Regions from separate parts of the Homo sapiens genome. Here region 1 is linked to region 2. Evidence: promoter capture Hi-C in 16 types of primary human blood cells and fetal thymus (Javierre and others, 2016). All regions are on one chromosome and are shown on one strand. The core of a region is centred on a gene start or on the middle of the fragment in contact, and the rest is flanking DNA. Distances in the headings are between cores, read along the strand shown. Region 1 overlaps NRG2 (neuregulin 2). Region 2 holds the start of NRG2 (neuregulin 2).

What was found. Contacts are between HindIII fragments. The CHiCAGO score rates a contact against its expected background, and 5 or more counts as called.
Region 1: a contact is called between a fragment that was not itself captured here and the fragment with the promoter of NRG2 in region 2, in 1 of 17 cell types (M1 macrophages). The highest score is 5.1, in M1 macrophages.

Annotation. Positions count from the first base shown.
Region 1 is chr5:139,847,742-139,855,076 of GRCh38, reverse strand. It overlaps NRG2 (neuregulin 2), which reads left to right. Exons shown (of 10, transcript NM_004883.3): 7 at 2,050-2,173; 8 at 2,518-2,645; 9 at 3,246-3,473; 10 at 6,380-7,335. The coding sequence ends at 7,160. Among named protein-coding and RNA genes, the nearest start is that of PSD2, 56 kb to the right of the region's middle. RefSeq lists silencers at 6,299-6,358, 6,409-6,828, 6,959-7,148. The HindIII fragment of the contact is 1,442 bases long and covers 4,638-6,079 here.
Region 2 is chr5:140,040,032-140,046,835 of GRCh38, reverse strand. It overlaps NRG2 (neuregulin 2), which reads left to right and starts at 3,537. Exons shown (of 10, transcript NM_004883.3): 1 at 3,537-4,466. The coding sequence starts at 3,767. RefSeq lists silencers at 3,395-3,734, 3,895-4,104 and enhancers at 3,403-4,072, 5,445-5,634. The HindIII fragment of the contact is 2,328 bases long and covers 3,453-5,780 here.

The sequences.
Region 1 (7,335 bases), core at 4,109-6,608, 190 kb after region 2:
GGGCAAGGAGAATAAGTGAACAGAGAGGGAGCCGGGCAGTCTAAGCTAAAAGACAGCACAGATGAGGGTCAACTGTACTCCCGGAGCATGGGCAGCCCAGACTAGCTGGAGCAAAGGGCCAGGGACAGGAAAAAAGCGGGCATGAGTCTAAAAGAATAGCTGGGACCCAGATGGTACCATAGGGCCTTGGATGCCGAGCTAGCAAGTTTGGGTTTATCCAGTGAAGGCTATAGATGTGCCTTTGTTGGATAAACCCAGGCTCCCTAGCTCGGCATCCAAGGCCCTATGACCTTCTGATGTGCTGAAAGATGACGGGTTTGTAACAACTGTTCTTATCTGGAAAGCAAGGGTCTGGACTGGACAGAGCCACCATTCTGGGGACTGAGCCCCTGGTCTGGACTCATGCTGCCCCATCTGTGGCATCTGAAGTCCTGCTGGCCTTGTCTTGAATGAATCCAGGACCAGAAAGTCTGGAGGAGAGTCAGGAGGGAGTTGGGGCCCAGTGAGCCCAGAGGAGACTGGGCCCAAGAGGGAAAACTAAGTCCAAGAATTGGAGAAAAAGCAAGCCGCCTGTCCTGCCCCCACTGCATTTACTCATTTCTTCAACAAACATTCAGTGCCTGCTGGACACCAGGTCCTGCCTCAGGCATACGGCCGGTGCTCTGAACAAGTGGTCCAGTGTCACGGGACACCTTTTAGAGTCACCTAACCTTGGCTGAGGAGCAGGAAGGGTTTCCCTGAGGAAGCAGCATTTAGGCCAGGGCCTGAGAGGTGAACAAGAGTTAGCAGGTGAAGAGGAGAGAAAGTATTCCAGGTGAATGGCCTGGCATGCGCAAAGGCCGGGAGGCCAGAGAGGGCTGGGCATAGTGGGGGATCAGAAACAAGCTCACCATGGAGGCAGCTAGCTGGGGTGCTGGGTGGGCAGAGAGAGACAGGGCTGGGAGAGAAACAGGACACTAAGGCCCAATAAAGGGGTTTTATTTTCATTTTTGCGGGTACTTAGTAGGTGTATATATTTATGGGGTACATGAGATATTTTGATACAGACATGCAATGCATAATAATCATATCATGTATTCTATTCATCCCCCCAGGCATTTATCCTTTGTGACCTTGAGCAAACTGATGGGTCCTCGTGGACCTTTGTGTTACAAGCAATCCAGTTATACTCTTTTAAATGTATAATTAAATTATTATTGACTATAGTCACCCCATATGCTATTGAATACTAGGTCTTTTTCCTTCTAACTAGTTTTTGTACCCATGAACCATCCCCACCTCCCTCCCAACCCCCCACTTCCTTTCCCAGCCTCTGGTAACCATCCTTCTACTCTCTATCTCCGTGAGTTCACAATGAAGGGTCTTAAACAGGGGAGGGACATGATTAGATTTAATATCAAATAAATCGAGCATTTAATATGTGCCAATCTGAAGTAGTCCCACAGGCCCTGACTCCCTAGCCACAGCACCTGTTTTATTTTCTTCATGGAACTTTATTGAAAGTATCTAGTTCATTGCTTTGTTTATGTGTTTACCATCTGCTTCCTCTACTGGCCTGCAGGCTTCAGGAGGGTGGATTCCCTATCTACCTATCTATTGTCTCTGCTCCAAAACAGTGTCTGGCACATAGTGATAACTCAATACATACCAAATTAATGAATGAGGGAGAGAGAGAGGGAGTCAGCACTGTGCTTGAATGTTTCATATACTTTTAATCCTCAATAGTCTTTGGAATGGATAAATGATCACCCTGTCTTATAGATGAGGAAAGTGAAACGTGAAGAGCTTAAGTAACTTGCCCGGGGTTGCATAGCTAGAAAGCAGTGAAGTTCTACTCTCTGGGCAGAGCCAGAGCTCACTGCCACGACGCTCAGGTCCTATTGGATTCAGGTGGTAGTGATGCTGTAGGGCAGCTTGAGTACAGGGACGAGCAGTAGCCATGGCCACCCTGGGCAGGAGGAAAAGCTGTTTCCCTAGAGAGATAGCTAGGGAAGTTCATCGTTGGCGAGTGGGGGGAATGCCAGCCTCACCTTCCCTTCCCTTGTGCAGAAAACAGCGGAAGCAGATGCACAACCACCTCCGGCAGAACATGTGCCCGGCCCATCAGAACCGGAGCTTGGCCAATGGGCCCAGCCACCCCCGGCTGGACCCAGAGGAGATCCAGATGGCAGATGTGAGTGGCTTTCCTGGGGCCCCCTTCTGAGCCCTCAGTGGACAGCCAGCCTTCTCATGCCCCCTGCAAGGATGGGCCAGGGCAGCAGCCAGCCTATCCCATGGCCAGCCTTGCCTGCTAGGCACTGCCTCACCAGGATGGCTGGCCTTGGTTTGCTCACTTCCATGAGGAAGGGGTGGGGGTTGATTTGCTGGAGCCATCGCTGCCCCAACATCAAGTCACTCTCACACAGTGGGTCTCCCCAACCAGGAGCTCAGTCAGTGCTCATCACTTCCCTGTCCCCAACAAGAAAGAGTTCATTTGGGCCCCAGTCACTAACTCTCGCCCAACTCTGTCTGTTCCAGTATATTTCCAAGAACGTGCCAGCCACAGACCATGTCATCAGGAGAGAAACTGAGACCACCTTCTCTGGGAGCCACTCCTGTTCTCCTTCTCACCACTGCTCCACAGCCACACCCACCTCCAGCCACAGGTAGGCACCACCAAGGCCCATGGAAACTTGTAGACTCACATACTTCATCTGGCGCAAAGTGCCCACTTACTCCGACATCCAGAGCTATTCAATACCCTCCCCTGAGCTTGCCACAGGAATCACAGCACACCTTAGCCTCCTCTCCAGAACTGCAGAGGCCAGTCCACACAGCACAAAGGCTCAGACAACTCAAAAATAACATGGCTGGCTCCCTTCTTCCCTCGGGAGCACCAGGAAATAGTCAGGGCCCTCACATACTGGCCCCTGGGGCTGGGCTTCTGAGATAGGTAGCTAAGGACCACGGTGGTGGAAAGGTCCCAGACAGGGGGTCTAAGGTAAGGCTGGGGGGAGGCTGGTTGCAGGAAGGAAAGAAATGGGTCTCTGCACATTACAGCTCACCCATCTATGGGACCCCAGCCCTCCTTCTTCCAATATTGGGGTTGGGCATTTGCAACAATACACATCACCCCAGAGTGGAGAAGGGCATTGAGCTAAGGGAGCTCGAGGTGGAAGAAGAGCCAGGGAGGTCCATGGGACCACACCTGCTGGGCCGCCCTGCCCCTTCCTGACCCCTCGTCTCACCCCATCTGGCCTTCCCAGACACGAGAGCCACACGTGGAGCCTGGAACGTTCTGAGAGCCTGACTTCTGACTCCCAGTCGGGGATCATGCTATCATCAGTGGGTACCAGCAAATGCAACAGCCCAGCATGTGTGGAGGCCCGGGCAAGGCGGGCAGCAGCCTACAACCTGGAGGAGCGGCGCAGGGCCACCGCGCCACCCTATCACGATTCCGTGGACTCCCTTCGCGACTCCCCACACAGCGAGAGGTCAGTTCCTACCCCCTGACCTATTCCCCGCTTAGCCAGAGGGCTGGCACCACTGGCCCAAGGCTGACCCTTAGGGCCCCTCAGAAACACTCCAAAGAGCCTCATCTCCATTTTTCATATGGGAAAACAAGGTCCTAGAAAAGGTGAAATGGCCTGCTCAGAGCCATCGGCATGTTAATGACAGACTGGGACTAGAGTTGGGCCAGTGGACCCTGGTGGACAGTGACCATCTAATTTAATTGTCCTCCCAGGACACTTTTCACACTAGAAAAAGGACATTATTAATAGTTACACTGGAACATCAAGAACAAACAGGCAGCCGGGCGCGGTGGCTCACACCTGTAATCCCAGCACTTGGGAGGCCAAGGCGGATGGATCACCTGAGGTCAGGAGTTTGAGACTAGTCTGGCCAACATGGTGAAACCCCCATCTTTACTAAAAATACAAAAATTAGCCAGGCATGGTGGCACATGCCTGTAATCACAGCTACTTGGGAGGCTGAGGCAAGAGCATCCCTTCACCTGGGAGGCGGAGGTTGCAGTGAGCTGAGATGGCGCCACTGCACTCCAACCTCAGCAACAGAGCAAGACTCCCTTTACAAAAAGAAAAAAAAAAAAAGAACAAACAGGGGCTGTTCTGGACAAACCAGGATACATGCTAGAAGTTCCATGTCCCAGCAGGAACAGAAGGAGACACGAAGAAGGAGTAAACTGCAGAGTGGGAGGGGAGGTTGCCTTTGAGGACACTGACCAGCACAAGATGGACGTGAGCCAAGAATGATGGCAGGCCTTGGCAGTAGCAGCAACAAGACCCCAGGGTTCAAGGCCTTGTTGGCTTCCTAAGCAGTGGATGTAGTAAGAACCAGGAAACGCCCTTTCTTCCCTGACTCCAAGCCAGAAGTCAAGGGCCAGCACCCCTGCCACCTTGCTCAGCCCTGAGTGGCCCTCAGCAAGTGGGGTCTGTAGGAGGTGAGCAGGGAAAGATGAGTGGTACTAAAAACTCCACACCAGGGAGCAGGGAGAGGAGCAGATATTCCCTTGCTCTCAACTCAGCCTACTCCATGCCAGGCCCTGTGCTGGGCAGGCCTGGCTGGGAATCCAGAAGTGGCCTGCCAGGTTCCTGCTCCTGAGGAGCTCCTAGCCACAGAAACAAACCAAGGAAGCTTACAGCAGCCTATGGAAGGTGCTAAACATGACACCACACCAGGGCAGAGAGACCCAGTCTGACTGTAGGCTCTGGGAAGTAGCCAGATTTTCTAAGCCCAGCTCCACCACCTGTGTGATTTGGGGCAGACTGATCACCTCTGTACCTTGTTCCCTCAGCTGTAGAACAGGGAGAACAAAAGCTACTATGCATGGTTCAAGTGAAGGCCACCTGAGATCATGTGCACAGAGCTCTTTGTCTCATCCCTGGCATGGAGCTGATGCTCACTAGGTGTAGCTATTTATGAATCGTAACCACAGCAATGAGACTCCTTAATGGGTGGTAGGAAGGGGAGAGGCAGGAGAGCAGGAAGAAAAGCATTCTAGGCACGGGGAACAACTTGAGCTGTTCCAACAGAGGCACTTAAGAACAGGGCTGATGAGTGAGGTGCCTGGAACAGAGTGGGCTGTAGGGAGCAGAGGAGCTGGGCCTGAACAGGCAAGCTGAGGCCAGACAGACTGACCCTGGGTGGGTAAACAGGAAGACCGGCTTCAGCAGAGCTGTGACTTTACAAGATTGCTCTGGGAACTGCATAGAGTGAAGGAGGAGAGACCCTGGGGTGGACCCAGATGACCACATGTGAACAGTCGGGCCCAGGATGGGGTGGAGAGTGTGCTTCCGGAGAAGGGAATGGGTAGGACTTGGTGGTTAATCAGATGTGCCGGTGGGAAAGGGAAGAGGGAGGAGTCAGGCGATTCAGAAAAAATGATAATGGGGACTCCAGGCTGGTTCCAGAGAGCAGTGAGATGCCCAGCTGTGCAGTTTGGAAGGGAAGCGTGGAGGTGGGTGGCCCCTGTCCTGAGGTGACAACGGTGGGGCAGAAGACTGATGGGCTTACAAGGGGGATGTGGAGCACAAAAGGGGACAGGTACCCGGGATCCAGCCTGGGAGATATTAGCAAGGCCAGACTTCTGAAGGAGCTGGTGGTGTGGGGATGGGTCTGTAGCCACAAGCAGAGACACCTCATGGGATCTTGGTACTCCCCTGAAGCAGGTTTTGACTTCACTGTAAGGAGGAATATTTCCCTCACTGAAGCCATCAGGGCATGGGAGGAATTGTCCCTGTGGGGCAGTGAGGCCAGGTCACAGGGGTATCTGAATGGAGACTAATGGCTTCTGGAATTGGGCAGTATGAGTCCTGGTTCCTGACTAGCCTCAAGTCACATCCCAGCTCTGCCACTTCTTGGCTGTGTAAATCCTGAATAAGTCACTTAAACGTTCTGAGTGTTACTTTCCTGCGTGTAGAATTAAACGTTCTGAGTGTTACTTTCCTGCGTGTAGAATGGGACTGGCGGAAGGGTCTTACAGAGCTGCGGTATTAAACCAGATGGAACATGTACCCCAGCGTGAGCCTGACCCCCTGACGGTGAGCATTCCCACAGCAAGTGACCATTCATGAAAGCTTACCAGGGTCAGGCACAGGGCTAACACATCCCACTGATACAATCTGGAATCATCCCAACAGAGCTATGGAATCAACACCATGGTTATGCCCGCGTAACAGATAAGGAAACCGAGGCTCGGAGAGGTTTAGGAAATTGCATAAGGCCACTGAGGGTTGCTGCCGTCATTCTTGCAGGCGGGGTCTCGGGCAAGGTTAAGGCAAGTCTGGGTCCGCCCCTCCCACCCTACCCCACCCCCAACCCCCCCTCCCCCGCGCCGGCCCGGCCTGGCCCTGGCCCATGCCTCTGCCTCTCCCCGCAGGTACGTGTCGGCCCTGACCACGCCCGCGCGCCTCTCGCCCGTGGACTTCCACTACTCGCTGGCCACGCAGGTGCCAACTTTCGAGATCACGTCCCCCAACTCGGCGCACGCCGTGTCGCTGCCGCCGGCGGCGCCCATCAGTTACCGCCTGGCCGAGCAGCAGCCGTTACTGCGGCACCCGGCGCCCCCCGGCCCGGGACCCGGACCCGGGCCCGGGCCCGGGCCCGGCGCAGACATGCAGCGCAGCTATGACAGCTACTATTACCCCGCGGCGGGGCCCGGACCGCGGCGCGGGACCTGCGCGCTCGGCGGCAGCCTGGGCAGCCTGCCTGCCAGCCCCTTCCGCATCCCCGAGGACGACGAGTACGAGACCACGCAGGAGTGCGCGCCCCCGCCGCCGCCGCGGCCGCGCGCGCGCGGTGCGTCCCGCAGGACGTCGGCGGGGCCCCGGCGCTGGCGCCGCTCGCGCCTCAACGGGCTGGCGGCGCAGCGCGCACGGGCGGCGAGGGACTCGCTGTCGCTGAGCAGCGGCTCGGGCGGCGGCTCAGCCTCGGCGTCGGACGACGACGCGGACGACGCGGACGGGGCGCTGGCGGCCGAGAGCACACCTTTCCTGGGCCTGCGTGGGGCGCACGACGCGCTGCGCTCGGACTCGCCGCCACTGTGCCCGGCGGCCGACAGCAGGACTTACTACTCACTGGACAGCCACAGCACGCGGGCCAGCAGCAGACACAGCCGCGGGCCGCCCCCGCGGGCCAAGCAGGACTCGGCGCCACTCTAGGGCCCCGCCGCGCGCCCCTCCGCCCCGCCCGCCCCACTATCTTTAAGGAGACCAGAGACCGCCTACTGGAGAGAAAGGAGGAAAAAAGAAATAAAAATATTTTTATTTTCTATAAAAGGAAAAAAGTATAACAAAATGTTTTATTTTCATTTTAGCAAAAATTGTCTTATAATAC
Region 2 (6,804 bases), core at 2,288-4,787:
TCCCAGCACTTTGGGAGGCCAAGGCAGGCAGATCACCTGAGGTCGGGAGTTCAAGACCAGCCTGACCAACATGGAGAAACCCCGTCTCTACTAAAAATACAAAAAATTAGCCAGGCGTGGTGGCAGGCACCTGTAATCCCAGCTACTTGGGAGGCTGAGGCAGGATAATCACTTGAACCCGGGAGGTGGAGGTTGCAGTGAGCCAAGATCACACCATTGCACTCCAGCATGGGCAACAAGACCAAAACTCTGTCTCAAAAAAAAAAAAATAAGAGAGAGAGGGGAAAATAATATTTTTATTCTTCATGACATGTGCTGTTGAAAAATTGTATCGCCTTTTTTTTTTTTTTTTTTTTGAGACAGTGCTCTGTTGCCCAGGCTGGAGTGTAGTGTCATGAGGCTCACTGCAACCTCTGCCTCCTGGGTTCTAGCATTTCTCCTGTGTCAGCCTCCCAAGTAGCTGGGATTATAGGGGAGCGCCACCACGCCTGGCTAATTTTTTTTTTGGTAGTAGTAAAGATGGGGTTTCACCATGTTGGCCAGGTTAGTCTTGAACTCCTGACCTCAAGTGATCCACCCCACTCAGCCTACCAAAGTGCTAAGATTACAGGCATGAGCCACTGCACCCAGCCGCATTTTTTAATATACAGAAAATCCTAGTGAATATTTTTAATATACAGAAAATAAATACCACTTAGAGATTCTCAGCTCTTAGATTGGGAACCACCAGTATAAGTAAAATATTAGTAATCTTCAACTTTAATTTTGGCCCTTACTGTGCACCAGACATTGTTCTAAGCACTTTACATATTATCTCACATAATCCACATCCTCATCATCCTTCTAGTCTCAGCTTAAATGTTATCTCCTCAGAGAAGCCTTCCCTTATCCAAGTAGACCTATCCTCTCCCCTTTCCATTATTCTCTAGCATTTCATCCTGTTTATTTCCTTCAGGACACTCAGCAATACAAGTAATTAGTTACCCATTTGTGTACTTATTTACTGTTGTCTTCCCAGTCAGAGTATGAGCTTTGAGAGCACAGACATGTACTATTGAACAGTTTGGTTCACCACAGTACATCCAGTAACATACAGTGCCTCAGTGCTTGGCACAGAGGAGCCATTCAATTGAATATTTATTGAAAGTACATACTGAGCAAAAAACAGCTTTACGAAGTAGACCCTATTATTTTCTCCTTCATACTGATAAGGAAACTAAGGCCTAGAGAGTGAAATAGACTCATCCCAAAGTTGGTAAGTCACAGAGTTGCTTTAAAACCCAGCTCTGCTGGGCTCCAGAGCACAAGCTCTTCACTATGACCCTGGTCTCAGGAACAGAAGACTGAGTTCAGTCCTGGCTGTGTGAAATGTTGAGTAAGTCCCCTATCCCCTCTGGGACTTTTTCTTTCATTGTAAAATGAAAGAGTGGATGTCGCTATCTTCCTTATGGTGATGTTTTGTGATTTATGAGGTCTGTGATCTATGAAAATGAAATGGGGGACACTGAAGGAGCCAAGAAGATTGGCTTGATGCCTTTAAGCGTGCCGATTTTCAGTTATTTTCTTCCTTCTCTCCTTCTTTCACTGGAGATTTGCTAATCCTTATTTTATGCCAGGCATTGTGTTGGAGGTAATAGGAATCCAAAGATGAATAGGATATATATAGTCCCTGACATTAACGTGCCTGGCCTGATGGGAGATGCAGACCCATTAAATGGCTGCTTGAAATACGGTATGGGCCAGTATCCCAACAGTAATACTATGTGTGAAGCTCATGGCAATACAGAGGAGGAAGGGATTAATTCCATCATGTATGTGTTGGTGGGAGTAGAGGTGGATATGTAGGAAGGGGGATGCGGTATAATGCTGAGCTGGGCCTTGGGAAAATAAGTTTTCCATGTGGTCAAGGTGGAGGTGAGGCTTTCTGGACACAAGAGACATCATGTGCAGAAGCACACCAAGAAAGAGCATGAAGTGCTGAGGATTGCTAGAGTGGGGGGTTGGCTCTCAGGATATGAAGCTGGCTAGGCAAAGGGAGCCCATGAAGAGCCTTGCTGAGGAGTTTGAACTTAACTTCTGAGAGCAGTAGCATGGCCAAATTGTACTTACATTTTATTTTTAGAAGGATCACTCTGGCATTGGTAGGACTGGAGATAGGTGATGAGGTGAAAGGAGTGGAGACCAGTTAGAAGGCTTAGAAGTTGTCCAGGTGAGAGATGATGAGGGCTTGGACTTAAGGTATTTGCAGCAGAGTTGGAGTGGAAGTAGATAAATTGGAGATTATTTTAAAAGAGAGACCCAAAGGCCTTGGTGATTAATTGGATGAGGAAGAATAAAAGATGAGATGAAGGGACTTATTGTAATGGATTGATGTAGTCTAAAAGAATAAAACAGTGGCATTAATAATTATAGGGGATTTGGAGTGAAGTGGAAGAAATAATGATGTTGGCTTTGGATGTATTGAGTTTAAGATGTCTCTTAGCTAGGAGGAAAGGTGTAGCTCTCTCTACTTCCTTTCCAGAATAGCAGTCCTAGCCTAAGTCACTCATCCTTGGACCAGTTTCCTGTGGAGCCCAGTGCGGTATAAAATTCCCCAAGAGCTCACTGGCATTCCTGAGCTCCACATCCTTCAAGGTTAAAAGCTGGGTGTTGAAAACTCCCTGGACCCTCATTGATAGGCTAATGGATTATGGACCTGTGTGTGTGTGTGTGTGTGTGTGTGTGTGTTTTAAATCAGATGCTGGCTCCAGTGCAGCAAACTCTTCTGCCTCTTGCAAGCATCAGCCTTGGAAACAAAACAAAACAAAACAAAAAAAACCTTTTTTATGGAGCAGCCTCTGGCCCTGACAGGCTCTGGCTCTCTGTTGGCTCCCAAGAAGCCCCCCACCTTTCTTAGAGATCAGATTTTTAAAAGATGAGGTTGTACAGTGCTCAGCCAGATCCCCACGTGGCCGCTGAAGAAAGCCCAGAGTGTTGGGGACTGGGCCCTTTCTCAGCTACCACCTCTGCTTGGGTGTCCTCAATGCTAAGACAAGACACCTTGTGGCCCAACTCTTTCCAAAATGACGGGGCTGGGATTCTCCCCCACCTCAAGTCGAATATCCAGCGTTCACCAGGCGGTGGCAGGACCGAGCACGTGGTATCATTTAGGGGCTGGGCTCCAGGGTCCTCCTAGGAAAGAGGACAGCCCAAGAGGCGAGAGGCTGGCCGGCCACCCTGGCCATGGCAACCTCTCTGGCTCCTACAGCTGCTGGCCAAAGGCAGGGGGCACGCCCTGCGTCCCATTACCACGTTCATAGGATGGTGCCAGGAGCCCGTTATCTCTTCTTCGCCTTCTCCTCACGCACCACCCCCACTGTCATGCCGATAAATCCCGGGAGCAAAGGGTGGCACGATTCCTCCCGCGCCCCTGCGGGCTGAAGGCGGGCACTAAAGCAGTGCAGTCCCAAGCTTCCCCTGCAGAAGCCGCGCTCCCTACTCGGTCCGGGGGCAGAGGGGGCGCGAGAGAGCAAGTGGGCGGGCGTCCCATCCTCCGCATCCTCCTCCAGGTCCTGGCGCACAGGGTGGGAGCGCTGCGCTGCGCCGCGCTGCGCATCGCGGCCCGCTTGCCGCCTGCCCCCTGCCCTAGCTGGGCCACCTCCCCGGGCTGCCGGTGGAGGGCTAAGAGGCGCTAACGTTACGCTGTTTCCGGTTTTCCAGCGGGCTCTGTTTCCCCTCCCAAGGCGGCGGCGGCTGAGCGGCGGAGCCCCCCAAATGGCCTGGCCAGATGCGGCAGGTTTGCTGCTCAGCGCTGCCGCCGCCGCCACTGGAGAAGGGTCGGTGCAGCAGCTACAGCGACAGCAGCAGCAGCAGCAGCGAGAGGAGCAGCAGCAGCAGCAGCAGCAGCAGCGAGAGCGGCAGCAGCAGCAGGAGCAGCAGCAACAACAGCAGCATCTCTCGTCCCGCTGCGCCCCCAGAGCCGCGGCCGCAGCAACAGCCGCAGCCCCGCAGCCCCGCAGCCCGGAGAGCCGCCGCCCGTTCGCGAGCCGCAGCCGCCGGCGGCATGAGGCGCGACCCGGCCCCCGGCTTCTCCATGCTGCTCTTCGGTGTGTCGCTCGCCTGCTACTCGCCCAGCCTCAAGTCAGTGCAGGACCAGGCGTACAAGGCACCCGTGGTGGTGGAGGGCAAGGTACAGGGGCTGGTCCCAGCCGGCGGCTCCAGCTCCAACAGCACCCGAGAGCCGCCCGCCTCGGGTCGGGTGGCGTTGGTAAAGGTGCTGGACAAGTGGCCGCTCCGGAGCGGGGGGCTGCAGCGCGAGCAGGTGATCAGCGTGGGCTCCTGTGTGCCGCTCGAAAGGAACCAGCGCTACATCTTTTTCCTGGAGCCCACGGAACAGCCCTTAGTCTTTAAGACGGCCTTTGCCCCCCTCGATACCAACGGCAAAAATCTCAAGAAAGAGGTGGGCAAGATCCTGTGCACTGACTGCGGTGAGTCGCCCCCTCCCTTTGCTGGAGAAAGGGGGGAGGGGCGAGGTGGTGGAGAATGGGGGTGGGGCGGGGAGGTGCTGCAGGTGCCCGGGCCTGGCAGCGTCCGGGCGCTGGGGGGGTGGGGCCGCCCCTGGGCAGGGCGCCTGGCACGGGTGGGTGAGGGGGTTGGGGTTGGAGAGAAGAAGGATCAGGCTCAAAGTGTGCCAGGGGTGGGGGGCGGAGGGAGGCGCTGGCCTGTGCCAGCGGGGATCTGCGGCTGATGTATGGCATGTGGGGCTGGAAAGCTGCCATCATAGCCCAGTAGCGGAAGGAAAAACGGAGAGGTCCTGGCGGTGCTGGCCTGAGGCTCAGTGAGTCAGGAGTGACCCTCGGAGGCCTTGCCTGCCCTGCTGCCGCGGGCCTGCCGTGCCCAGGCTGGCAGGGTCTGCGGGAGCAGCTGGGCAGACTCCCAGGCTGTGAAGGCCTCCGCTTACAAGTTCTCCTAGGGAATGGTCGCCCCCGCCCCCTCCTTCCTCTCCTGGGCTCGTTGCTCTGCTCATCCACACCGCTGGCGCAGGCAGAGTTGGACTTTTTCTGCTACTGTTTTCCGTCCTCCATGTGGCTCCAGTTTTTTTCTTCATCGTGATTGCCTGTCTTTGCTAAGCAGGTAGCACATCCTTCTCTTAAGACTAGCAAGCAGACACCTTTTTTTTTTTTTTTTTTTAGCTGTTTCTGGGGGAATTACAAGGTCTGTTGATTGTGATGATGATGAAAGAGAGTAACTTCTGCTGAATGCTTTAAGTTCAGCTCTAACGTCTTACTCGCCGGATGTATTTGACTGCATCTCTCATCTTCATGATGTTGGATGCTGCACAGGAATGCAGGTGATTAGAAACAAAACACTGAAATCTGTAGATCTCTGCAGCTGGGAATGGAAGTCTCCCATGTCAAAAGTCAAAGAAATGTCAGTCTAAGAGCTTTTTCTTCTTGTCCCTGAATCCAGTACTTACTTCTTAGTAAGATATTTCAAATCAAATTGTCCCACACTGGAGTATTTGGTGTAAGCCTGTCTCGTGCTTATTCAAATTGAGGTTTCGTTTTGTCCCAACTAAAGCTGAATTTGTTGGCATGCGGTATGACTTGCTGGACTGTGTAATCGCTGAATTATGATAGATGTCCTGTACTCTCATAGAAGTTGGTATGTTTACCAGTTTTACCAACTGATTCTGGGTAGTGTAGACAGGCTTTGTTTGAGTAGCAAAATATGTGTAACAGCTTATAGTAAGTTTTGCTGCCTTCATCTTTCTAGATCGATACCTATGATTTTTGGAAGCTTTCCTCCCCCACCCCCTTCAGGAGGCAAATTTTAGGAGTTTAGTGATGGGAGTATATCTAGACACTAACTATGTTAAACTGTGATCACTTTAATGAGAAGAATCTTGGCAATGTCTTAATAAGGAGGGGAAAACTTTGGGGGATAACAGCAGTTTATCGCTCTGACATTATCCTTAGGAATATTGTTGACTGCTTTTTATTATTGGTTTTATGTTCTGAAATGTTTTATAAAGACAAGTAGAGACCAGCTAAGAATTTCTAATTTTTTATTCTATTAAGTATTTTGATACTTGGGGAGTATTAAAATACTCTGAGATGCCTTGGGGAGCTGTGAAACAGTATTGTACAGTGGAAAATAGATAGTAAAAATATTTATTGAATCTTGTCCAAGGACAGCTTCTGTTTGGTTGTTGGTGAGTTGCTCCTGCATTTGCACAGTGTACATCTCCACATAATCCCTAGTCTGGGCCGCTGAGGACTTGATGGTCTTTGTCAGATAACCCCATAGAGTAACTGGCTTCTCTGCTCCCTTGTCTCCCTCCTCCTACTTTCTCCTTCCCCCAACACAATACACCTTATCAATTACACATTGTTTGTTCTAGTGGGTATTCAGTAGCTTAACAGTTGAATGCAGAAATCATGAAAGATTTGAGGGGCAGAAATATGGTCTGTTTCTAGGTTATGATCATCTCATATTATCAAAATAGCATGTGTAGTATAGTTCTTAAAAAGATACATTTAGAACTGCAATCACTGGTAAAGGAAGGGCCCTCACATATCACAAATTATCAAGGATCAGGAATGTGTATGGCAGTAAACATTTTAGAATGCAAAAAAAAATTGCTTTGAATTGATATTCAAAGGGAAGTATATAAATAGGTACCATTTTGGGGAGCCTTATATAAGGGGATTAGAAATTAAAGGACATATTTGTGAGACTTGTGGAATTGGTGATAATATAACAGAAGAGCATAAACTGCATTTTCTTGTTTTCTACTATGTGGTTAAAGAAAACATGTACTGG